7 separate regions of the Homo sapiens genome follow, and all the other regions are linked to region 2. Evidence: promoter capture Hi-C in 16 types of primary human blood cells and fetal thymus (Javierre and others, 2016). All regions are on one chromosome and are shown on one strand. The core of a region is centred on a gene start or on the middle of the fragment in contact, and the rest is flanking DNA. Distances in the headings are between cores, read along the strand shown.

What was found. Contacts are between HindIII fragments. The CHiCAGO score rates a contact against its expected background, and 5 or more counts as called.
Region 1: a contact is called between a fragment that was not itself captured here and the fragment with the promoter of TGFB1I1 in region 2, in 5 of 17 cell types (total CD4 T cells, neutrophils, total B cells and 2 more). The highest score is 8.4, in total CD4 T cells.
Region 3: a contact is called between the fragment with the promoter of HSD3B7 here and the fragment with the promoter of TGFB1I1 in region 2, in 4 of 17 cell types (neutrophils, fetal thymus, monocytes and 1 more). The highest score is 10.7, in neutrophils.
Region 4: a fragment that was not itself captured here is called in contact with the fragment with the promoter of TGFB1I1 in region 2 in 6 of 17 cell types (neutrophils, naive CD8 T cells, monocytes and 3 more); the score reaches 8.9 in neutrophils.
Region 5: a contact is called between a fragment that was not itself captured here and the fragment with the promoter of TGFB1I1 in region 2, in 2 of 17 cell types (neutrophils and naive CD8 T cells). The highest score is 8.2, in neutrophils.
Region 6: a contact is called between a fragment that was not itself captured here and the fragment with the promoter of TGFB1I1 in region 2, in 1 of 17 cell types (neutrophils). The highest score is 6.0, in neutrophils.
Region 7: a contact is called between a fragment that was not itself captured here and the fragment with the promoter of TGFB1I1 in region 2, in 5 of 17 cell types (neutrophils, monocytes, M0 macrophages and 2 more). The highest score is 8.0, in neutrophils.

Annotation. Positions count from the first base shown.
Region 1 is chr16:31,002,472-31,005,511 of GRCh38, reverse strand. All of the region lies in intron 1 of STX1B (syntaxin 1B), which reads left to right. Among named protein-coding and RNA genes, the nearest start is that of STX1B, 6.6 kb to the left of the region's middle. The HindIII fragment of the contact is 2,126 bases long and covers 668-2,793 here.
Region 2 is chr16:31,470,748-31,473,880 of GRCh38, reverse strand. TGFB1I1 (transforming growth factor beta 1 induced transcript 1) reads right to left here and starts at 1,729. Exons shown (of 11, transcript NM_001042454.3): 1 at 1,680-1,729; 2 at 325-440; 3 at 147-199; 4 at 1-46. The coding sequence starts at 1,692. RefSeq lists an enhancer at 850-1,390. The HindIII fragment of the contact is 20,246 bases long and covers 1-3,133 here.
Region 3 is chr16:30,983,229-30,986,456 of GRCh38, reverse strand. It overlaps HSD3B7 (hydroxy-delta-5-steroid dehydrogenase, 3 beta- and steroid delta-isomerase 7), which reads right to left and starts at 1,250. Exons shown (of 7, transcript NM_025193.4): 1 at 1,160-1,250; 2 at 633-804; 3 at 253-408; 4 at 1-34. The coding sequence starts at 798. It overlaps SETD1A (SET domain containing 1A, histone lysine methyltransferase), which reads right to left. Exons shown (of 19, transcript NM_014712.3): 18 at 2,685-2,822; 19 at 1,793-2,607. The coding sequence ends at 2,434. RefSeq lists an enhancer at 1,269-1,781. The HindIII fragment of the contact is 29,451 bases long and covers 1-3,228 here.
Region 4 is chr16:30,964,172-30,967,361 of GRCh38, reverse strand. SETD1A (SET domain containing 1A, histone lysine methyltransferase) reads right to left here. Exons shown (of 19, transcript NM_014712.3): 6 at 3,039-3,190; 7 at 1,901-2,750; 8 at 976-1,761; 9 at 302-478. Among named protein-coding and RNA genes, the nearest start is that of SETD1A, 8.0 kb to the right of the region's middle. The HindIII fragment of the contact is 2,452 bases long and covers 715-3,166 here.
Region 5 is chr16:31,039,038-31,042,097 of GRCh38, reverse strand. STX4 (syntaxin 4) reads right to left here. Exons shown (of 11, transcript NM_004604.5): 9 at 2,447-2,557; 10 at 2,280-2,375; 11 at 1,934-2,186. The coding sequence ends at 2,295. Among named protein-coding and RNA genes, the nearest start is that of STX4, 7.0 kb to the right of the region's middle. The HindIII fragment of the contact is 8,081 bases long and covers 1-3,060 here.
Region 6 is chr16:31,930,474-31,933,489 of GRCh38, reverse strand. No RefSeq gene overlaps it. Among named protein-coding and RNA genes, the nearest start is that of ZNF267, 58 kb to the right of the region's middle. The HindIII fragment of the contact is 8,251 bases long and covers 1-3,016 here.
Region 7 is chr16:31,911,514-31,914,838 of GRCh38, reverse strand. ZNF267 (zinc finger protein 267) reads right to left here. Exons shown (of 4, transcript NM_003414.6): 4 at 1-363. Among named protein-coding and RNA genes, the nearest start is that of ZNF267, 39 kb to the right of the region's middle. The HindIII fragment of the contact is 1,026 bases long and covers 1,481-2,506 here.

The DNA.
Region 1 (3,040 bases), core at 481-2,980, 470 kb after region 2:
ATATAGTGAGATCCCATCTCTCAAAAAAAAAAAAAAAAAAAGGAAAAAGAAAAAAAAAGAAATGCAAAGCACTTGTAATAGGACCCAACTCGTGGTAATCAGCACATATATGTTACATCCTCGATTTGCACATGAGGCAACTGAGGCTTGAATCGTTCACCTGTAACCTGAGGCCACCATAAAGTAGACTGGGGCACATTTGATCATCTTTTCCTAGGTAGTCTGGTTTGCCCACAGCCTGCTTTCTTTTTGGCTGGCCTAACTTCTTCCAGAAATGGATGCTGTACTCATTACTAAATATGCATCACTCAGAGCACGGAGGGCCCTTCAGAGCAGGGTGGGCACTTGCACCAGTCTGCTCATTTCAGTGATGAGGGAACTGGGGCCCAGGGAGGAGTCTAAGTTTGCCTGGGGTCACACAGCAAGACAGACGGAGGCTGGGAGGGATGGCCTCCTGTCCAAGCTCTTCCTGCAGCCCTGGGCCCCTCCTACTGATTTTCTGTCCTGGCTGCAGGAGTTCAGCAGTCCTGAGGACATGGCAGAGTGGGCTTTTTAGGACCAGGAGGGACTGCCATCTGTCAGCAGGACAGAAGGGAGAGAGCCTGACATTTAGTGCCAGACAGTCCTGGGTTCAGGTCCTACCTCTGGCCTCATTTGCTGTGAAGCTTTAGGCAGGTCAGGCAACCTCTCTGAGCCTGTTTCCTTGTCTGTAACATGGAATCAGCCGGTGGTAGGCATTGTTACCACTCAGCAAATGCAGAGACTAGGCTCAGGGGTAGAGCCAAATGGTCTTCTAACAGCTGACCTGGGGCAAGTTCTTTTTTTTTTTTTTTTAAGAAACGGGGTCTTGCTCTGTCACCCAGGCTGGAGTGCAGTGGCACAATCACAGCTCACTGCAGTCTCTTGACCTCCTGAGCTCCGGGGATCCTCCTACCTCACCCTCCCAAGTAGCTGAGACTACAGGTGCGCACCACCATGCCCAGCTAATTTTTGTATTTTTTGTAGAGACATGATCTTGCTATGTTGCCCAGGCTGGTCTTGAACTCCTGGGTTCAAGTGATCCTCCCACCAGAGCCTCCCAAAGTGCTGGGATTACAGGCGTGAGCCACTACAACTGGCCTGAGTTATTTAGCTCTATGCCTCAGTTTCCCCATCTATAAAAGGGGGCTATAATAATACCTCCAAGGGGACTGTTGTAAGAATGAAATGGATAGATATATGTGGAGCACATAGAACAGTGCCTGGCACATTGTAAAACATCATCTAAATATTTGCATAAGTATAATTATGTTGGCCAATGGTCCTTACAGAGTCCTAATGAAGATTAAATGAGATAACAAGAATGTAAGACTTACGCAAAAAATACCATCAAGTGCTCTTGTTTTGCTAGGTTGTCCGGACACAGAGCCTTCCCCAGATTGGGACTTAGCAGGCGCTCACTGAGAGGGAAAGTAACTGGGAGCGGAAAGTCAGTGGGGGAGGTAGCCCAGTCTGGAGCCTAACAGCGGTCTTTGAGGGGCTGGATGCCCATGGTTTTCTGGCCCTATGTGGCCTGGGTGCCCTTGGGCAAGTCACTCTCCTTTTACCCCCCTGGCTTCCTGTTCCCTCATCTGTGAAATGGGGACGATGATGTTTATGCAGCTTTTCTCTCAGGGCTGGTGGTGCTGAGGATCAAAACGGATTATGGATGTAAAAGTGTTTGTAAATGGTAGAGGATTATTAGCTCCCAGCTCTCTTTGTATTTATTATACCAAATAAACCACACTTGGGCCTTCTATCATTCTTCCTGTCTTGAGGGCAAACAAATAGGTAGCCCAGGGTGCTCCAGAGATGAACCTAAGGGAGGTGGCTCCAAGAACAACAGGAGAGATTGAAATTAGATTTTAGGAAAGACTTCCTAACATTAGCATGGGGAAGGGAGAGACACAGAGAACAGGAAAGTCCTCAGGCACCCGGGCCAGGGAGAGGCCGCATGACCTGCGTGAGGCTGGTGGCTGAGTGAGTGGTTGAAGGGAGAGAAAGGGCAGAGGAAGGCTTTTGGCTCTAGGGGAAGGAGGCCTTGTAGCACAGCTGGATTTTGAGGACAGAGAAAGTGAAGAGCATCATGGTAGGCCGATGGGTCCTCAGAGGTGAGCCCAGCATCCCAGAGCCTCTCAGGGTCCCCAACTTATGCCACCTGTGCCGCCCCACTTTCTGGGGGCAGCTGTGAGCCAAGACAGAGGAAACTCCCTTTCCAGGCGGATGGTTGGGATTGTCTGGAAATTCAACACAAGTGCTGAACACATTTTCCGACACAGTGTGGGCCCAGCGTCTGTGTGAAGACTCCCTGGAGTTCCATTTGGGCTGGGCTTAGCAGGGAGGCTGGGGTGGCTCAGGAGCGTGGAGCTGGAGGCCCCCCAGGCTGTGCTGGCTTTTCCTGGGGCTGTGGGGCACTGCTGATCCTGAGTTTTGGCTGTGTGGACTGCACCTAGGTCCCATCTGGCCCTGTCTAGGTTCAATCTGAGCTGTCTGGGATCTGTCTGGGATCCGTGTGAGCCTCGGCTAGTTCAGTCTGAGCCTGTCTGGTTTCTGTTAGGCCCTGTCTGCGTTCCGCTGGGACCCTGGCAAGCTCTTCTTTTTGGATTCCAACTGAGTACACCCCCAGGTGGATGCTGTTTGGATCCTGTCTTGATTTCACCCAGCCTCTGGGGTTTGGATTCTGTCTGAGCTCTGGCTGGGTTCTTTTTGGAAATCAGAATGAACTCTGTATACATTTCCACTGGGGCTGATCAGGGCTCCAGATGTCATTAAGCTTGATGGACTCAGATTTTGCTGTCAGACCTCTGTCCCAAGCAGAGAAGGACTCAGGTGTGTGTAGCACAGGGCACCTCCCCTACAGCCTCTCCTGTCCAGCTCTGAGTGTGTGTGCAGACATGAGGCTCGGAGAAGCTGGAAGAACAAGCCCAGTGAGCCCTCCCAAATGTCCTCAGGGGTGCAGCTGAAAGCCAGTGTGTCCACACATGTCAGTGCGGCTCAGCTGTGAGTCTGCGTGCGGGTGAAC
Region 2 (3,133 bases), core at 480-2,979:
GGCCGCCGGGGCTGCAGGCTTTGGGGACCGAGGCTTGCATACCGTGCTGGGAAGCAGAGTGGGAGCCTGGGTTCAGGGGTGGGGAATCCAAGCCTCCTCACCTGAGACTCAGTTGGCCCCCATGCCCTGGTTTCCAGGCCCCTCACCTGTACAGGTGGTCCTTGTCCCCCGAGGCTCCTGAAGACTCCCCAGACCCTGTCTACAGAGCGGAGACGCACAGGTGGGATGACAGGCCTGCACTCTGCCCCACTGAGGCTGAGATCCCCATAGACCAGGCCGAGCCTGGCCCTAGTGGCTGCCCCAGTCCCCAACATCCGATCTCACCTGTGGCTGGTGGCCATAGGATGGGGGAGGGGTGAGAGGCTCCGCAGGGCGCTCTTTGGGAGCCCCTGACCTTGGCATGTGCGAGGTGGTAGTCTCCAGGTCAGAGAGCAGGGCATCTGCAGGAAGAGGCCATCAGGGAGAGAGACAAGGGTCACGGTTAGATCAGAAGATAAGGTTCCCAGTGGGCAGTACTGGAGAAGGACAGAAGCCAGTATTAAGAGAAGAGGTCACAGGGCCAGAGCCAGGCAGAGCACTGCTCGAAGGGTAGCAAGGAATATTTATGACCAGAATATCCCAGTTGCTCACGCTTGGAGCCAAGCACAAACCCAGCCTCCTGATTATTTTATTCTCCCCATCTTCTCTGATGCAGTCAAAATGGGCTCTTCACCCAAGCCAAATTTGGCTCCCCTCCAAATTGCTCCATTGGCCCAGTGCCTGGCCCTCAGCTTTCTGATTGGACGCTCTCTCTTCCATGCTGGTTAACTCCTCCCTCTACCTACACAGGCCCCGCCCAGCCTGGCCACTCCCAGGCCCCTGAGTCCCGCCCTGGGCTCCTCACTGGCGCTTCGCTGGGACCTGCCTTCTGATTGGCTGTTTATCTGCGGTACAGCGTCAGTTACCCCTACCGAGCAGCGCCCTCTACCGCCAGGGGCCGGAAGCCCCTCTCTCCCGTGGAGCGCACAGCCTTCCAGCCCCAGGCTTCGCAGGGAGGACGAGATACCTGGGTCCCCCTTCCGGACAAGACACCTCTCTCCATCCCTGCATCCCCAGATCCGGGTCTTTTGAGCCCTTTCACTTCCAGAACCCAGAAGTCCTGCCCTCAGTCTTCGTCTCTGAGCACCCGCGTGAAACCCTGAAGCCTTCGCGGGCGCCTAGGCACTCCTGAGTTACTATTCTCTTCCTTGCCTCAAGGACCTGACCCTCACTGTGCTCAGGAGCCCTTAACTCCTCCTCTCCCAAAACTCTGGTGCAGGCAGGCCCGCTTTTTTTCTCCAAAACTTGATGCCAGACTTTCCCGTGCCCTCTACTTTCCCGGTCCCCGGGCCGAGGCCCCTTTAACCCCTCCCTCCCCAGAGCCCCGCGCCCGGGCGCCCGCGGGCGCCGCACCTCCCGTTCCATCTGCCGCAGCCTGGGATGGAGGAGCACAGCGAGGGAAGAAGGGAGGGAGCGGCCGGCCCAGGAAAGGCAGGAAGGGAGAGGCAGGAAGGGGGACGTGGAGTTGGAAAGGAGGCGCGGGCAGAGGCGAAAAGCAGAAGTAAGAAGACAGGGATGGGGAGATGCGGGAGAGCGACGGCGGGGAGGCAGCTCTGGGCAGCGGTGAGGGGCCACGGACCCGGGGATCCGGCCCCACTCACCCAGGTCCTCCATGGCGGGGCGCGGGCCGGTGGCGCGGGGCGAACAGGGCGGGGGCCGTGTCCGGTGGGGGCGGGGGGCGGGGGACGTCCGGGAGCTGGAAGCCCGGCCGTGACCATGTAAGGAAGCCGGGACCCGCTGAGATGGGGATGGGGGGGCGATGAACGGGGGAACCCGAGGTGGGGGCGTGGAAAGGAGGGAGCGCCCCGGCCCACCCGAGCCCAGCCCGCCGGCCTGCCGCGGAGGCGGCCACACCCCAGCCTTGGCCTCAGCTGCAGGGAGCCCCAGGAGGCCAGAGCCAGAGAGAAGTGGCTTCTCCAGACCAAGCCCCAGAGCCGCTCCCTAGGGAGACTTACAGACACGGACTGAGGCCCCCAAACAGACACCGCTCAAAGCTAGCGCCTGAGTCCTAGACAAGAGCCTCCCTCCCACCCATGCCATTCCTGGGAGACTTGTCCCAGACGGAATTTTTGGATTGGTAGCAGGAGTGATATTCTAAGGCTCAATTAGACCTCAGGTTCGGAGACCCTCCCATCGGAGACCCTGACAGATAAATAGAGGCCCCAAGAGGCATACATACCAGACACAAAGAAATCTGAGGGACGGGGACAGACACAGTGAACCCACCCACAGACTCTACACTAGGACCTTCCCTCCAAGACTTGGTCATGGACACACGTAAACTCGAACCCGGGCGCAAGCCCCTTGCAAATTCGGGGAAAACACTCCCAGGCAACCAACCCCCAGCCAGCCTGCAAGACAAAGCCCTTCCTCAGCACTGAGGTGGCCCAGGCCTGCTCTGAAACAGCCCTTTCCCAAGTTACTGATGAACTCAGAGCAGAAAGCAAGACACAGTCTCCAGCCACAAAGTGGCAAGGCCTTCCCTGGACTGAGACCCTGAGAAACGAGGTGGAAACGAGAGGCCATAGAGGTAGTTATGGACAGACAACTGTGCTGCAGCCACTCTTCTGGACAGATCTGAGCACTGGAATGTGAGTATCAACCCAGCAGCAAATCGGAACAACCTGGGGAGCTTTTTAAAAATGCGAGACAGGCATGGTGGCTCACACCTATAATCCTAGCACTTTGGGAGGTCAAGGCGGGCAGGTCACTTGAGGTCAGGAGTTCGAGACCAGCCTGGCCAACATGACAAAACCCCATCTCTACTAAAAACACAAAATTAGCTGTGCGTGGTGGTGGGAGCCTGTAATTCCAGCTACTTGGGAGGCTGAGACAGGAGAATTGCTTGAAACCTGGAGGCAGAGGCTGCAGTGAGCTGAGATTGTGCCACTGAACTCCTGAGCAACAGAGGAGACCCTGTGTCAAGAATAAAAAAGAAAAAGAAGAAAAAATGGGCAAACGACCTGAATAGACAGTTCAAAGAAGTTATATAAATAGCCAATGATTACATGAAAAGATCCTCAACATCATTAGTCCCCAGAGAAATGCAAATCAA
Region 3 (3,228 bases), core at 1-2,500, 490 kb after region 2:
GTCTGCACACAAGCCTCGATCACGTTCCGGGTACCTGGCAGAGGAGGAGGCGTATCCAAGCTGCAGCTTCTTCCCTCTCTGCATCTTCCTCCTCCCCATCCCAGGTCCAGGGAAAACCATGACAGGTCAGGGGAGGCGGGGGCAGGGCTGTCAATAGGACAACTTGTCCCAGGGGAGTCACCGGAGGTCAAGGCCAAAGACAGAGTGGGGAACAAACAGGCAAGATGGCCAGGAGTGTCCAGAGCTCCTCACCCTGCACGTTGACCTCATGGATGGTCTTGGGACTGGCCCTGCCAAACACGTCTACCAGCCCAGCCGTGTGGATGACCACATGGGCTCCGGCCACAGCTGCTGCCACCTCATGGGCCTGGGTCACGTCCCCCTGGATGGCAGTCACCCTCACAGGCCCTGGCCGGGGTTGGAGGACACAGGCCATGTCAGAGCTGGGGCCAGAGGCCAGAGGCTGGGTTCATCTTCCACCCTGGAGTCACGTTCCCAATGTGACTCACTCGACCCATCCATGTGGACAGAAACCAGCATCATCTGTTCCACTGCAGGGGTGGGGATCCCAGCTTGGGAAGGGTTGGGGAAGCGTCCACACCCTCTCCACCACAAGCTCCCCCAACAAGAACCTGTCTTCAGCTCCTCCAGCCAGGGACCCAGGTGTTGGTCAAAGACCCGCAGCTCCCCGAGCCGGGGCTCCCGCTGCAGCAGCATTCGCACCACGTGCTCTCCCAGGAAGCCACAGCCCCCTGTGACCAGGTACACCAGCTTCTGGGCCTGTGCAGAGTCGGCCATGCCTGGCTGGGGAAGAGACCTTGGCTCATCCAGGGGCTGGCTGCCACCTGCTGCAACCACCTGTTACTGCTGGAGGTGCCCTGGAGCGGTGACGAGGCTGGCGTTTGCGGGGAGGGCAGAGCTGATCCTGGGAGCTGCAGCAACCAGGCCACCTGCCGTCTGCCCCTGCTGATGGCTGAGTTACGGAGAGAGGGGCGGGCTTGGGGTGCAGGAAGGGGTCAGGGTTTAGGGAGAGAGATTTGAAGGCAGTAAAAGGGTGGGGAGGCCAGGAGTTGAGGGAGGTGGAGGGAAGGTTATAGGAAGGTGGGAAGGGCCGGATGGAGGGAAAGGCCACCTGGGCACTGGCAGCGCCTCTGCCTACCTGCAGCCGCTATCCCAGGGTGCCCAGACTGGCCTGGAGGGGCCCTCTTCTTTCGTCCAGGGCTGGCCGGCCCGCACACCGTCCTTCCGCTGGCTCCTCCTTCTCCCTCCTGCCCCATTCCAGGAACAGAGACCCGCCCAGCCACAACCCCCACCACTCTTGCCCCAAGGCGCCCCCTGGCGGCCGCTCTGTGCTCCACTGGCATCTGGGTCCAGCGGAGAACTTGGTGGGGATGAAGCTCGAACTTGCAGAGTGGGCTGAAGGGGTCTGGGGCTGTGGGTGGAGCCAGCGGTGACCTCATCCCACAGTGTGACCTCAGGCCTTCCCTCCTGCTGGGCTTCCCAGGAGGCCGGAGGTCCAGCTGCAGCTGTGATTGTAGGAAGGGGAGGCCTGACCTTGGCACCACCCTGGCGGGCACTGGTGGGGTATTCCTGGTGCGGGTGCGGCTGCTGCAGCCTGTCAGGGGGTCCGAGACAGTCTCGGACTGTCTCTGCAGGTCTGGGCTCTTGCCTGAAGGCCCCTTTACCTGCCCCACACTTCAGGTACCCACTTTTCCCTCTCTTCAACTTGCACAACCCTCCGTGCCCTCTACCCCCAACCCCTCGCTCCTGCCCAAATACACCGACCAAACACTTTTGTACAATAAAGTTTAATCACAATTATAAAAATGTGGCGTCGGGTTTGCGCTATTAACATATGTACAGTCCAGCCCAGCAAAAGGGACCCACCCCGCCATCCTGGCCTGGCTGAGCCGGGGAGTGACACCAGGGTGGAAGGGTGACCCTCAGGGTCTGGCAGGAACAGATGAGGCAGGGTTCCAGGCACGGAGTCCCCAGGACTGGGGGTGCAGAGCCCCCCCAGGGGGAGAACATGGCCACTGCCCCAGAGACCCCTAAACTGGGGAGGGGTACACGCAGGGCGTAAGGGGAAGTCCCCATTAACACAAAGCAAGAGGACTGTGTAGCCCCCCAGGACAGAATCTGTACAGGCCGGCACCCCAGGTTTCCACAGGAAACAGCTGCTGGCTGCTACAAAACATTTACAGCTTCTTCTCCGCAAAGAAAAACAATCAGGGGGTGGTGGGCAGGGGTGACAGGAGAGGCAGAAGCTGCCTCCAGGGACTGAGGCTCCCTCGCTGGGCTTGGGGCCCCCAACCCCACGCTTGGAGATGGGGGCATGTGGGCCCTGCTGAGCCCACTAAGGCTGGGGGGGTGCTGGGAGCTCAGGGCACCAGGGGGAATAAATAGGGGTGTGGGCACCCATCCTGCCCCACCTCAGTTTAGGGAGCCCCGGCAGCTCTCTGTGCCACACAGACACGGGATCTTGTTGTCTTCCAGTGGGAACTTGTAGTCGTAGGTGATCTCCTCGTCCACGCCAATGGGCTGCTTGGAGTAGATCACGATCTTCTTCTGGGACTCGATGGTGATGACCTTGGCGTAGCAGTTAGGCTGCGGATGGAAGGGCGTGTGAGCCGTGGCCACCCCCACCGACCCCCAACTCCTGCCCCGGCTGGCCCCTGGCGCACCGTGCAGCAGTGGTTGATGAATCTGGCCAGGTTGCCACACTTGGTGGCATCGATGATGGTGTCGTGGTCCACCCGGAACAGGTAGCTGCTGCCAATGCCCTCCTGCACGTAGCGCTTCTCCCGCATGTCGGCCACCATCTGCCAGGGTGAGATGCGATGGTCAGGGAAGAGTCCCCCACTTCCTGCCCCTGAGCACGCCTGCCAGCCAGCACCCCAGGTCCACGCCCACCAGGCCTGGAGCTGCAGCTCTGCCTCCAGCTCCCGCTAACCCGGCACTGACTCTCTCGACTCTGCTTCCAGGAGCCCTCCCTCTTTGGGGCAGCATCCTAAGCCTCTGGTGGCCATTCTAAGTCACCCGCAGGGAACTCCAGGGAAATCTGCACTGGGTAAGAGAGCCACTGACTCCTTCGAGCATCTGCCTGGTCACAGTGGGGTCCCGGACTGCTGGGGCAAGTCTGGGGTTGGGGCAGCTCCTGAAATGACTGGCCATGTCACCAACGGCACCCTGCTCATCTCTCCTCCCTGGACCTCTCTCCAAAACAGG
Region 4 (3,190 bases), core at 691-3,190, 510 kb after region 2:
GCCAACACAGTGAAACCCCAGCTCTACTAAAAATACAAAAATTAGCCAGGCGTGGTGGCGGGTGCCTGTAACCCCAGCTACTCGGGAGGCTGAGGCAGGAGAATCGCTTGAACCCGGGAGGCGGAGGTTGCAGTGAGCTGAGATCAGGCCACTGCACTCCAGCCTGGGCAACAGAGTAAGACTCCATCTCAAAAAAAAGAAAAAACTCAAACACTCATGGTTCCTGACCACCCCTACCCCAAGGAAGGGGGCCCCCTCTCCCTCTCCCCACCCTACCCCACAAAACGACAGTTCTGAGTACCTTGAATGAAGGCAGCCGCAGGGCCCCTCTCAGCCCTGACCCAAAGGCGAAAGCCTCGATGCCCGTAGTGCCCCCGCTCTTGGCCCAGTCCACGAGGGACAGCAGGCCAGGCTCCTTCAGCTTCGTCTTCTCTTTATCCTCCTCCTTGGCTTGCTGCTTGGCCGCGTTCTGGAATGGCTGCAGGCAGCAGTGGGGCTGAGCCCCAGCGCCCAGAACCCAGGCATTCCCTCCTGCCTGAGACCTACTCCCGGACCCCAGGAATACAGAACGCATCTACTTGCTGCTCCATATCTTGGTCACACCTGTCCCAGCCCCCGCACGGCATTTTCTCAAAAGTCTGTCATTTCGCCCACCAGTCTTAAGAAATAGCCACCATTCCCACTTCACAAGTGGCAAAATGGAAGACCAAAGCTTGAAGAGAGCTAAGGGCCTTGTCCACTGCAAGCCAGCAAGGAATGGAGCCAGGACAAAGCTCTGCTGCCTCCCAGGCCCATCTGTGCCTGCTTCTCTGTCCCCTCAACTCCCCTGCCCACCCAGGGTGGCCTGCAGGGCCTGCGGCCTCTCTCCACTCGCCTCCATCACCTGTCTCCTCTGAGCTGTGCAGCCTGGAGGAGCCAGAGGCCCATTTCCTCCTGCAAAGCCCAGGGCTCCCCGGTCCCAGGCGCTGGCCTCACCTTGGCCTTCTCCTCCTTGCTCTCCCACCACTGGTCAAAGGCTCCGAAGGCCACGTTCTCCACCATCTTGCGGTTGAGGTCTCGCTGCATGATGCTCTTCATCTCCTGGACCAGCATGGCGAGCACACGGCCCACGGTGCCTGCTGTCGGGAGGGTCTTGCCCTCTGCCAGCTCTGCTTCTTCCCTGGGTGGCAGCCGGGCCTCCTCTCCCGAGACTGAGGAGGAGGGCAGGGGCTCGGCTGCCATTGGCATGGGCAGGTGGTAGGCCTCCCGTGAGTATGCCCCTCTGCCCTCCTGCCCCTGTGCATATAGAGCATACGGCAAGCCGTAGGCTGCCTCCTGCGGGGGTGGAAACGGGAGGAAGGCCTCCCCAAAGGCCCCACCGGGGGGGCCAGCTGAGGCGGCAATCAATCCCTTGCCCTGCCGCAGCTGATGGAGCCGAGTTAACATCTGGGTCTGCATCTGGAAGGACATGGGCATCCCTCCCCACTGAGCCCCAAGTCGGTCCATGAGCTCCAAGGAGTTCACAAAGTCATAGATGTGCGGGGGTGGTGGAGGAGGTGGGGGGTACTCAGGGGGCGGCGGCCCATCAGGTCTGGGTGGGAGGAGGTAGGCAGGTTGGTGGGGAGGATAACCAAGAGGAAGGGACGCCAGGTAGGGAGGAGGAGGCGGCGGGGGAGGGGGAGGTGGCGGAGGCTGCTGAGGGGGCGTCGGGGCCGGAGGGGGTGAGCCACCCCGGTCGTCGTCGGAGATCTCCATGTCGTCTCCAGAAGAGCATGGAGAAGCCTGCGGGGGCAGAAGAGGGTCACAGAAGGCTTCTGCCTGACCCAAGCCCTACTTTCTCATCTGGTTCCCTTCCCTCTCCCCTAGGCCCAACCCTGACTCCCAGAGCCCAGGTGCCTCCTCTGGCTGACCCCAACCTCACCTGGTTCTGTCCATTTGCCTTGGGAGACTCCCGGGTAGCCCCTGGCTCCCCGCTCCCTGTAGGTGCCACATCCTCAAAATTAGCTGGGGCCGGAGGGGGTGTGCAGGGCCCATGCCCTGACCCAGAAGGCACCTCACTCCCTGTATCTCTGGCCCCAAGGACCATGCTGCTGTTCTCTTCCTCCTCCTCTGTGTCAGAGGCCAAGAAGGAAAACTTGGAGCGCTGCTCCTTCAGCAGCATCTCGATGCGGGAATCCAGGCTGCTGTGCTGGGCGAAGGGCACACTCTCATTGGTGGTCTCCGGGGCTGGGGAGCCAGAGCGGGCAGGGGAGGCTGGGCGGGGGGAAGTCCGAACTTCTTCTCTCTCAGGGCTGGGCCCTCCTCCACCCCCGCCTCCACCAGGTTCTGGAGGCTCCGGGGGTGGAGCCTCTGAGGCAGGAGGCCGGTAGTCCTGGTCGGTGGGCCGGCTGGGCTCGGGGGGCAGGTAGGAGGTGTAAGAAGGTGGGAAGCGCTCAGCTGTATTTTCAGCAAAAGGGGCTCCAGGGGGTTCCTCCCGTGTGGCCCGGCGTGGTGGGTAGGAAGTATGGCGCTGGTAGCGATTCCAGCTTTCATAATACGCTGGGTAGTTTGCATCAGAACTACGAAACTGAGAGGACGAGGAGGAAGAGGATGACGAGGAGGACGAGGACAATGAGGAGGAAGAGGCGGAGGATGAGGCAGTGGCTGCAGTGGTGGCGGCGATGGCCGTGGAGGCGGTTGTGGAGGCTGAAGATGCAGAGAAGTGGCGGCGGGAAAAGGCATCTTGGTAGCTGTTCTCTGACCGCCGGGGCTTGAAGGAGGTTGAAGTGGTGCTGGAGAAGAAGCAGGGGAGTTAGCTGGACTCAGCTCTCTATGACCAAACCACAGCGTACTGGGTCCCAGGGCCCAAAGCCCCTCTATGCTGCCCTCCAAAAGAAGAGCTATATGTTGGGTTCCTAGCTAGTGTGTTCCCCGAGGACAGCAATTTGTTGACTGAATCCACAGAGAAACTAGGACAAATTATTTCCAACTCCCTCTTGGAGACAGACTCTGGGCATCTTCTTCCCAGTGGCAGCTCCCAGACTTTGCGGGCGGGGCCCCAGGCGGGGTCTGCTCTGTACCTGCTGGAGTAGGCAGAGTCCTGAGAGTAGGGGGTGCTGCCCCGAGACGTGTAGGGGGTTCCTTGGGAGGACTGAGGTGTGAACTGGCCAAAGGAAGATGGGGTATCTTGTCGGCTGCTGGAGAAGCTTGTGTCCTGGGAGCAGGGGGTGCC
Region 5 (3,060 bases), core at 78-2,577, 430 kb after region 2:
CCCCAGACCTTGGAGGTCAGAGCTAGGCGCCGCCCTACTGCAAGTAGGCAGGTGCCAGGAGCCGGCTTACCCTTTAAAACTAGGTGTCGGGGGCCGGGCGCGGTGGCTCATGCCTGTAATCCCAGCACTTTGGGAAGCTGAGGCGGGCGGATCACGAGGTCAGGAGATCGAGACCATCCTGGCTAACACGATGAAACCCCGTCTCTACTAAAAATACAAAAAATTAGCCGGGCGCGGTGGCGGGTGCCTGTAGTCCCAGCTACTCAGGAGCCTGAGGCAGGAGAATGGCGTGAACCCGGGAGGCGAAGTTTGCAGTGAGCGGAGATCGCACCACTGCACTCCAGTCTGGGCGATAGAGCAAGACTCCGTCTCAAAAAAAAAAAAAAAATTAGCCGGGCATGGTGGCGGGCGCCTGTAGTCCCAGCTACTCTGGAGGCTGAGGCAGGAGAATGGCGTGAACCCGGGAGGCGGAGCTTGCAGTGAGCCGAGATTGCGCCACTGCACCCCAGGCTGGGCGACAGAGCGAGACTCTGTCTCAAAACAAACAAACAAACAAACAAAAACTCTAGGTGTCGGGGAACAGGAGCCACGTCCACTCCAGAAATTAGGCATCAGGACTAGGAGCCCTTAGAAATTTAGGCGGTGGCTCACGCCTGTAATCCCAACACTTTGGGAGGCCGAGGAGGGCAGATCACGATGTCAGTAGATCGAGACCATCCTAACACGGTGAAACCCCGTCTCTACTAAAAATACAAAAAATTAGCCGGGTGTGGTGGCGGGTGCCTGCAGTCCCAGCTACTCGGGAGGCTGAGGCAGGAGAATGGCGTGAACCTGGGAGACGGAGCTTGCAGTGAGCTGAGATAGTGCCACTGCACTCCAGCCTGGGCAAAAGAACAAGACTCTGTCTCAAAAAAAAAGAAAAAAAGAAATTTAGTCAGGGCTTGGATTTCAGGTACCTTATGGAAGAAATCAGAGGTCAGGCTTTTCTGCTGCCACCACCTGCTTCAGCCAGGTAACCCTCAGCAACCAGGTGCACTGATCCAGGATCACTGGCTCTCTATGCTGCTGCTGCTGCTGCTGCTGCTACTGATGATGATTGCTATTATTTTTGAGACAGGGTCTCGCTCTGTCACCCAGGATGGAGTGCAGTGGGATGACCATGGCTCACTGCAGCCTTAATCTCCTGGGCTCAAGCGATCCTCCCACCTCAGCCTCTGGAGTAGCTGGGACGACAGACACTTGCCATCACGCCTGGCTAATTTGTAAAATTATTATTCTCTAAAGAGAAGAGGTTGCCCCATCCTGCCTAGGCTGGTCTCAAGCTCCTGGGCTCAAGAGATCCTCCTGCCTGGGCCTCCCAAAGTGCTGGGATTACTGGTGCGAGCCACCACACCCTGCCTAAACGCTTATGTAAAAGATGATGCTTTTGTTGGTCACAGGGCCCGGCCTCCTGTGCTTTCTGACTGGCAACCTCTTCCCCAGCTTAACATCCCACTCCAATGTCATCCCTGCTGAAACCAGACCATCCCTATCCACTGCATCCAAAGTGACAGCCTCAATTAGGCATTTTTTCATGGTGCCTCTTCCTCTGGGCCACAAGAAGGCCCACTGATGCCACCCAAACCCCCATCTCACCTGCGTCCCAGCCTGGCCTGGTCAGCCTCATCATTTCCAAGACAGATACTCACAGTGGTCCTTTCCCGGGGACAGTACTGAGCCAGGAGCTAGATGCCGGTGTTACCCCTCCCTGCCCACCCATTCCTATGGGGGTGCAGAAAGGCAGAACCAGCCTGCTGTGGGCACAGCACCCCTGGCAGTTTGACCTGAGCAGCCAGGGCCAGACCTGGCCCTGGGGACGTCCAGGAGGTAAGGAGGTTGGATGCCCGGAAGCCTTGGGCCAGCCCTTCCAGGAACACACGTGCACAGGGCTTTCTATGCTCTTTTTTTGTTTTTTAATTTTTTACAAAACCGTGTGTCCCGGCCAATCAGGACAGTGCAGGCCTCCCCCAGGCATTGAGGCCTGAAGGAGGAGGCCATCATGAATGAGCAGCTGCCAACCCCAGAAGAACTGTCTGCCCTTCTGCATAGGGGCCAGTGTGAGGAAGGGGTCCGACTGGAGGCTCTGCCCTGCCCCCCAGGCTGCTGGGAGAGAAGGCCAGGCCCTGGGTTCCTGGTGCTCCTAGTGCCTGTAAGGAAAGGAGGGAGAACAGGGTCTGAGGGAGGAGGGAGGGCTGGGGCCAGGGCTGGGGCAGGCCAGGGGGCAGCCCACAACATCTCACCAACAATGTGCGACATTATCCAACCACTGTGACGCCAATGATGACTGCTAGGAGGACGACGGTGATGGACACACAGATGGCAATCAAGACTTTCTTCTGTGGGAGAGGAGGGGGTCAGGGAAGTCACACAGGGTGCCTGGGGCAGTGGCCGGGCCTGGGAGGCTCACCTTCCTCGCCTTCTTCTGGTTCTCCAGGGCCGTCTTGACGTGCTCCTGCCCACGTTCCACGTAGTCCGCTGAGCTCAGGATGTTCTTCTCAATCCGATTGATCATCTCCCCCTGCTCAGAGGATGGGGTGGTTCAGGGAGGTAAGGATGCCTTTGCCCACCCCACCCCAGATGACTGAAGAACATTCCTGGCAGGAAAAAAAAATTGCACTAACAAAGACAAGGGCAAGACTTGATCTGACAAAAGTTCAGACTCCTTGGGGATGGCTTCCAGGCCCCTTCTATCATGTAGTCCCTTGTCCCCTGCTCACTTATCCCATACAACCTCTATCTGCAGTGGTAGCTTGGAGCTAAGGGCCTCAAATGGCTCATACCTTTCACAGATGGTGAACTGTGCCTTCACAAATCTGTCTGAATTTACCCATTCTTCCAGGCCTATCTACAGCTGCTGCAAAGCCCTCCCTATCCCTGCCTCCTCCTGGCACCACCAGCCTCAGGTCTCAGTACTCCTACTGAATGAGATCTCTTTCCTGTAAGTCTCAGCTGCAAAAGGGCATTGGCTGTAGCATGACTGAGGCCAGCTCCTCCAGGACAGGGCTGGAAGCTCAACTCAAC
Region 6 (3,016 bases), core at 206-2,705, 460 kb before region 2:
GGTTAATATAAATCTTTTTGATGGAAACATTAACAGTTATAAATTTGCCTGTGATTCCTCTTTTTGCTGTATTTCTTAAATTTTGGTAGGTTAGATTTTTAATATCATTTGTATCGAAGTATTTTTAAATTCTCATTATGGGCTGGATGTGGTGGCTTATTCCTGTAATCCCAGTACTTTGGGAGGCTGAGGTGGGTGGATCACTTGAGGTTAGGAGTTCAAGACCAGTCTGGCCAACATGGTGAAACCCCATCTCTACTAAAAATACAAAAAATTAGCTCAGCATGGTGGCACGCACCTGTAATCTCAGCTACTCGGGAGGCTGAGGCAGGAGAATCGCTTGAACCAGGGAGGCAGAGGTTGCAGTGAGCCGAGATTGTGCCACTGCACTCTAGCCTAGGTGACAGAGTGAGACTCCATCTCAAAAAAAAAATTGTTATGATTTCTCTTTGTCCCTCTGTTTGAGTGTATTGTTTTATTTAAATCTATTACAAATGTTCTAGTTTTCCTTTTGATATTGATTTCTCATGTTATTCCACTTGGCCAGAGAAAATTCTTTGATTTCCTTTAATCATTTTCAAATTAATTGAGAATTGTTTTGTGACCTAATAATATATAATGTCTCCTGGAAATTGTTCCATGTGCACTTGAAAAGAAAGTATTCTGCTTTTTTTGTGGGGGTGGGTGGAGTTTTTCATACATATTTGTTAGGTCTAGTTTGTTTATAGCGTTCTACCAGTCCCCTATTACTTATTGATGTTCTGCCTGATGGCTGGTGTCTATTTATTATTGAAAATGTGGAATTGAGGTATTTATTTGTTACTGTAGAATTGTTCATTTTCTCTTAAATTCTGTCCATTTTTAACATATTGTATATTTAATATATTTTCATATATTTGAGGGTTCTTCTGTAATATATGCATATGCTTATAATTGTTATATCTTCTTACTGGATTGGCCCTATTATCAATACATTGTCTTTGTCTCTTGTTACAACTTTGATGTGAAGCCTGTTATTTTCTGATGTGAGTATACTAACCACCTTTCCTTTGATTACTATTTGCATGTAATATCGTTTTTGATTCTTTCACTTTTAAACTATTTGAGCTTTTCAATGTTATGTAGACAGCATATGATTAGACGATGGTTTCTATTATTCATTCTGTGGTCTTCATTAAATAGTTTAACCCATTTATCTTAAAGTAATTACTCACAAGAAAGGACTGACTTCTCTCATTTTTCTATTCATTTTCTACCTGTGCTAAACCAGTTTTTGGCCCTTTTTGCCTACATTACTCCCTTCTCTAGTATCCGGTTTTGTACTCTATTACTTTGATTTTCTTCTTGTTTTCTTTTTAAAAAGTTTATTTTAGGTTCAGGGGTACATGTGCAGGTTTGTTATATAGGTAACTTGTGTGTCACAGGAATTTGGCATACAGATTCTTTTATCAACCAGGTAATAAACATAGTACCTGAGAGGTAGCTTTTTGTCCTCATCCTACTCCTACCCTCCACCCTCAAGTAGGTCCTGATGTCTGTTGTTCCCTTCTTTGTATCCATACATACTCAATGTTTATCTCCCCCTAATGAATGAAAACGTGATATTCGGTTTTCTGTTCCTGTGCTAGTTAATTTAAGATAATGGCCTCTAGCTCCATCCATGTTGCTGCAAAGGACACGATACTATTTTTTATAGCTGTACAGTATTCCATGGTGTATAGGTACTATGTTTTCTTTATCCAGTCTATCACTGATGGACATTTAGACTGATTCCATGTCTTTGCTATTGTGAATAGTTCTGTGATGAACATACATGTGAATGTGTCTTTATGGTAGAACAATTTATATTCCTTTGGGTATATACCCAATAATGGGATTGTGAGATTGAATGGTAATTCTGCCTTGAGTTCTTTCTGAAATTGCCAAACTGCTCTCCACAGTGGCTGAAGTAATTTACATTCCCACTAGCAGTATATAAGCGTTCCCTTTTCTCCACAACTTTGACAGCATCTTTTTTTATTTGACTTTTTAATAAAAGCCATTCTGACTGGTGAGAGATGGTATCTCATTGTGGTTTTGATTTGCATTCTTCTAATGATTACTGATGTTGAGCATTTTTTTCATATGCTCGTTGGCTGTGTGTGTCTTCTTTTGAGAAGTGTCTGTTCATGTCCTTTACCAACTTATTAATGGGCATTTTTGTTTTTGCTTGTACATGTATTTAAGTTTCTTATATATGCGGAATATTAGACCTTTGTCAGATGCATAGTTCACAAATACTATTTTCCCATTCTGTAGATTGTCTGTTTGCTCTGTTTATAATTTCCTTTTCCCGTGAAGAAGCTCTTTAGTTTAACTAGGTCTCATTTGTCAATTTTTCTTTTTGTTACAATTGCTTTTGGTGTCTTCATCATAAAATATTTGCCAAGGCCATGTCCAGAATGGTATTTCCTAGGTTGTCTTCAGGGTTTTTAATAGGTTTAGATTTTACATTTAAGTATTTATTCCACTTTGAGTTGATTTTTGTATATGGTGTAAGGGATGGGTCCAGTTTTACTCTTCTGTACATGGCTAGCTAGTTATCCCAGTACCATTTTTGCATTGGGAGTCTTTTCCTCATTGCTTGTTTTGGTCAATTTTATTGAAGATGAGAAGATTAAAGGTGTATGGCATTATTTCTAGATCTCTGTTTTGTTCCATTCTTCTGTGTGTCTATTTTTGGACCAGTACCATGGTGTTTTAGTCACTGTATAGTATAGTTTGAAGTCAGGGAATGTGATGTCTCCAGCTTTGTTCTTTTTGCTTAGGATTACCTTGGCTATTTGGCCTTTTTTTTTTTCATATGAATTTTAAAATAGTTGTTTCTAATTCTATGAAGAATGTCATTGGCAGTTTGATAGAAATAGCATTGAATCTGTAAATTGTCATGGGCAGTATGGCCATTTTAACAATATTGATTCTGCCTATCCATGAGCATGAAATGTTTTTCTATTTGTTTGTGTCATCTCTAATTACT
Region 7 (3,325 bases), core at 744-3,243, 440 kb before region 2:
ATAACACTGAAGTTTTATCATATATGTGATGTTTTCCCCAAATATCTATTTCCTCTTGTTGATTAAGCAATGATGAATGAGTAAAGACCTTCCTATATTGATCAAAGTTATAGCTTTTGGCACAAGAAGAAAGTATTTGCTGGTGAAACAAACTTTCAACAGAGGATTCATCAAATTGATCATATTTAAAAGTCTTTTCATCATAACATCCATTGTGCCCTTCACACTCCTCCCTTTTCCACCTTTTTCTTAAATGTAAATTCTCAAGATCACAGCTCCCATGTCTCCTCGATATCACTTTTTGGAATGAAGCTTCTGTGCAGTGCTCTGTCAACAGGTCCTTGTTATAATGCGAAAACACATCTGAAAGATATAAAAATTTTAAGAATTCCAATTACTATATTCAGGTACATATATTTTACAAATCTAATATACAAAATTATGCTAAGTTGAGAATACAACAACAGTTGAGTGAAAAACCTGAGGCCGTGTTTTCTCAATTGATATACAAACTTTACTACAATAAAGTGGCACGTGAACTACTAAGACACCAACAGTGAAGGAAAGGGAGTGCTTGTGCCACCTTGCCCTTGCCCCTCAGCAGCATCTGCATGGCGGGGAGAAATCTGTTCATTTGGGAGACGGAGAGCACAGTGACTAGGGGACTACAATGAACCCAGTGCTGCCCTATCACAGCAGAGACCTGGCAGGATTCATCACCTTCTGACTTAGGAGCTGCTGGTCTCTGAATAACCTACAGTGGTACCCCAATAACACATCATGAACATTGGACTCCGAGATGTGCTGGCTTCAGGTGTGACCCAGAACATTTCCCACTGTGGTGGGTATAGTGAAAGACACCTTCTGTTTGAGCAAAGCAGAGGAAAAAGTAAATGGGATTCTGTCTTGCACCTGAGGTACCAGCTTGGCCACAGTGGGGTAGAGCACCAAGCAGACTCTTAGGGTCCCTGAGTCAGCATTTCTGGACCTGCCCTGCACCAAAGAGTAAGTCCCAGTTGTGGAAGCAGTCATCATAAGCTGACTGAAGAGTGCTTGGGTGTTGAGTGAACATCAGTGATAGCCCAGTGGAAACCCCTGTGGGCTGGTGGTGGTGGCAGACACATTGTGAGGCTCCTCTGCCTGCAGAAAGGGGAGGGAGGAGTGGTAAGGATGTTGTCTTGTAATTTGAATGCCAGCTTAGCTGCAGTAGAATAGAACACGAGATAAATAAGGCTTCTGACTTCAATACCTGGCTCCCACACAATATCTCTGAACCTACCTGGGGCCAAAGGGAACTCACTGCCCTGAGGAGACACAAACCTGGCTGGTTACCACCTGCTGATTGTAGAGGCCTAAGGTCTTGAGTAAACTTAGGTGGTAGCCAGGCAGTAATTACACTGGGCCTTGGGTGACACCCAGTGCTGTGCTCACTTCAAGTCTAAATTAGCACAGTCCCAGTGGTGGGGGCAACAGGGAAGCTTATGTCATCCCACCCCAGCTCCAGGTAGCTCAGCATAGAGAAAGAAATTCCATTCGTCTGGAAGAAACTAAGGGAAGAGAACAAGAGTCTCTGCTTGGTAATCCAGATAATTCATCGATTTTAACCAAGACCAACCACATGGTACCTCTATGAGTCTGCAAGAACAACGTTATTGAGTTTGAGATCCAAGTACCTTCAAATTCTGGAAAGCCTTCCCAACAAGGGTGGACACAAAGCCCAGACTGCGAAGGCTACAATAAATGCCTAACTCTTCAATGCCAAGACACAGATGAACATCTACACATTAAGACCATCCAGTAAAATATGGCCTCACCTAACAAACTGAATAAGGCATAAGAGGCCAATCCTGGAGAAACAAAATAAGTAACTTTTCAGACAGATGATTCAACATAGTTGTGTTGAGGAAACAAATTCAAGATAAAATAGAGAAGGAATTCAGATTCTATCAGATAAATCAAACAAAGAGGTTGAAATAATTAAAAGGAATCAAGCAGAAATTGAAGTTAAAAAAGCAATTGGCATACTGAAGAATGCATCAGTCTCTTAATAGCAAAACTGATCAGGCAAAAGAAAAAATTATTGAGCTTGAACATAGGCAATTTGAAAATATGTAGAGAAGACAAAAAAGAATGAAGTATGCCTACAAGATTTAGAAAACACCCTGAAAAGGGCAAATCTAAGAGTTGTTAGCCTTAAAGAGAGAAAGAGACAGGGGTAGAAAGTTTCAAGAATACGATCAGAGAACTTCCCAAATCTATAAAGATATCAATATCCAAGTACAACCAGGTTACAGAACACAAAGCAGATTGAACCCAAAGACGACTACCTCAAGACATTTAATAATCAAACTCCCAAAAATTAAGAATAAAGGATCCTAAAAGCAGCAAGAAAAAAGAAACAGCATACAATGAAACTCCAGTACGTCTGGCAGCAGATTTTCAGTGGAAATCTTACAGGCCAGGAGAGAATAGCATGACATATTTAAAGTGCTGAAGTAGCAAAGCTTTTACACTAGAATAGTCTATCCCGTGAAAATATTCCATAGCCATGAAGGAGAAAAAAATGACCTTCCCAGACAAACACTGAGAGATTTCATTAAAACCAGACCTGTCCTACAAGTAATACTAAGGGGCATTCTCTTCCATCTGTAAGAAAAGAATGTTAATGAACAATAAGAAGTCATCTGAAGGTACAGAACTCATTGGTAATAGCACAGAGAAAAACTGAGTATTATAATATGGTAACTGTGGTGTGTAAAATACTCAAGTAGAAATACTCAATGATGACTCAATACAACTACAACAATGTTTCAAGACAAAGACAGTACAATAAGACATAAAGAGAACCAACAAAAAGTTGAAAAATGGGGAAGCAAAGTTAAAGGTAGAGTTTTTACTAGTTTTCTTATTGCTTATTTGTTCACTTAGGCAATCAGTGTGAAGTTGTCAGCAGTTAAAACAATAGGTTATAAGATAGTATTTGTAAGTTTCATGGTAACCTCAAATAAAAAAACATACAACAGACACAGAAACCAAAAAGCAAGAAATTAAATCATACCACCAAGAAAAATCATGTTCACTAAAATGAAGACAGAAAGGAAGGACAAAAGAAAGAGAAGATGCAAAAACAAATAACAAAATGGCAGGAGTGAACACATACTTATCAATAATAATGCTGAATGGAAATGCACTAAACACTCCAATTAGATGACATAGAATGGGTGAAAAAAAGAAAAAGGAAGACCCAATTATCTGCTGCCCACAAGAAATACACTTCATCTATAAAGATACACATAGACTGAAAAATAAAAGAATGGAAAAATGT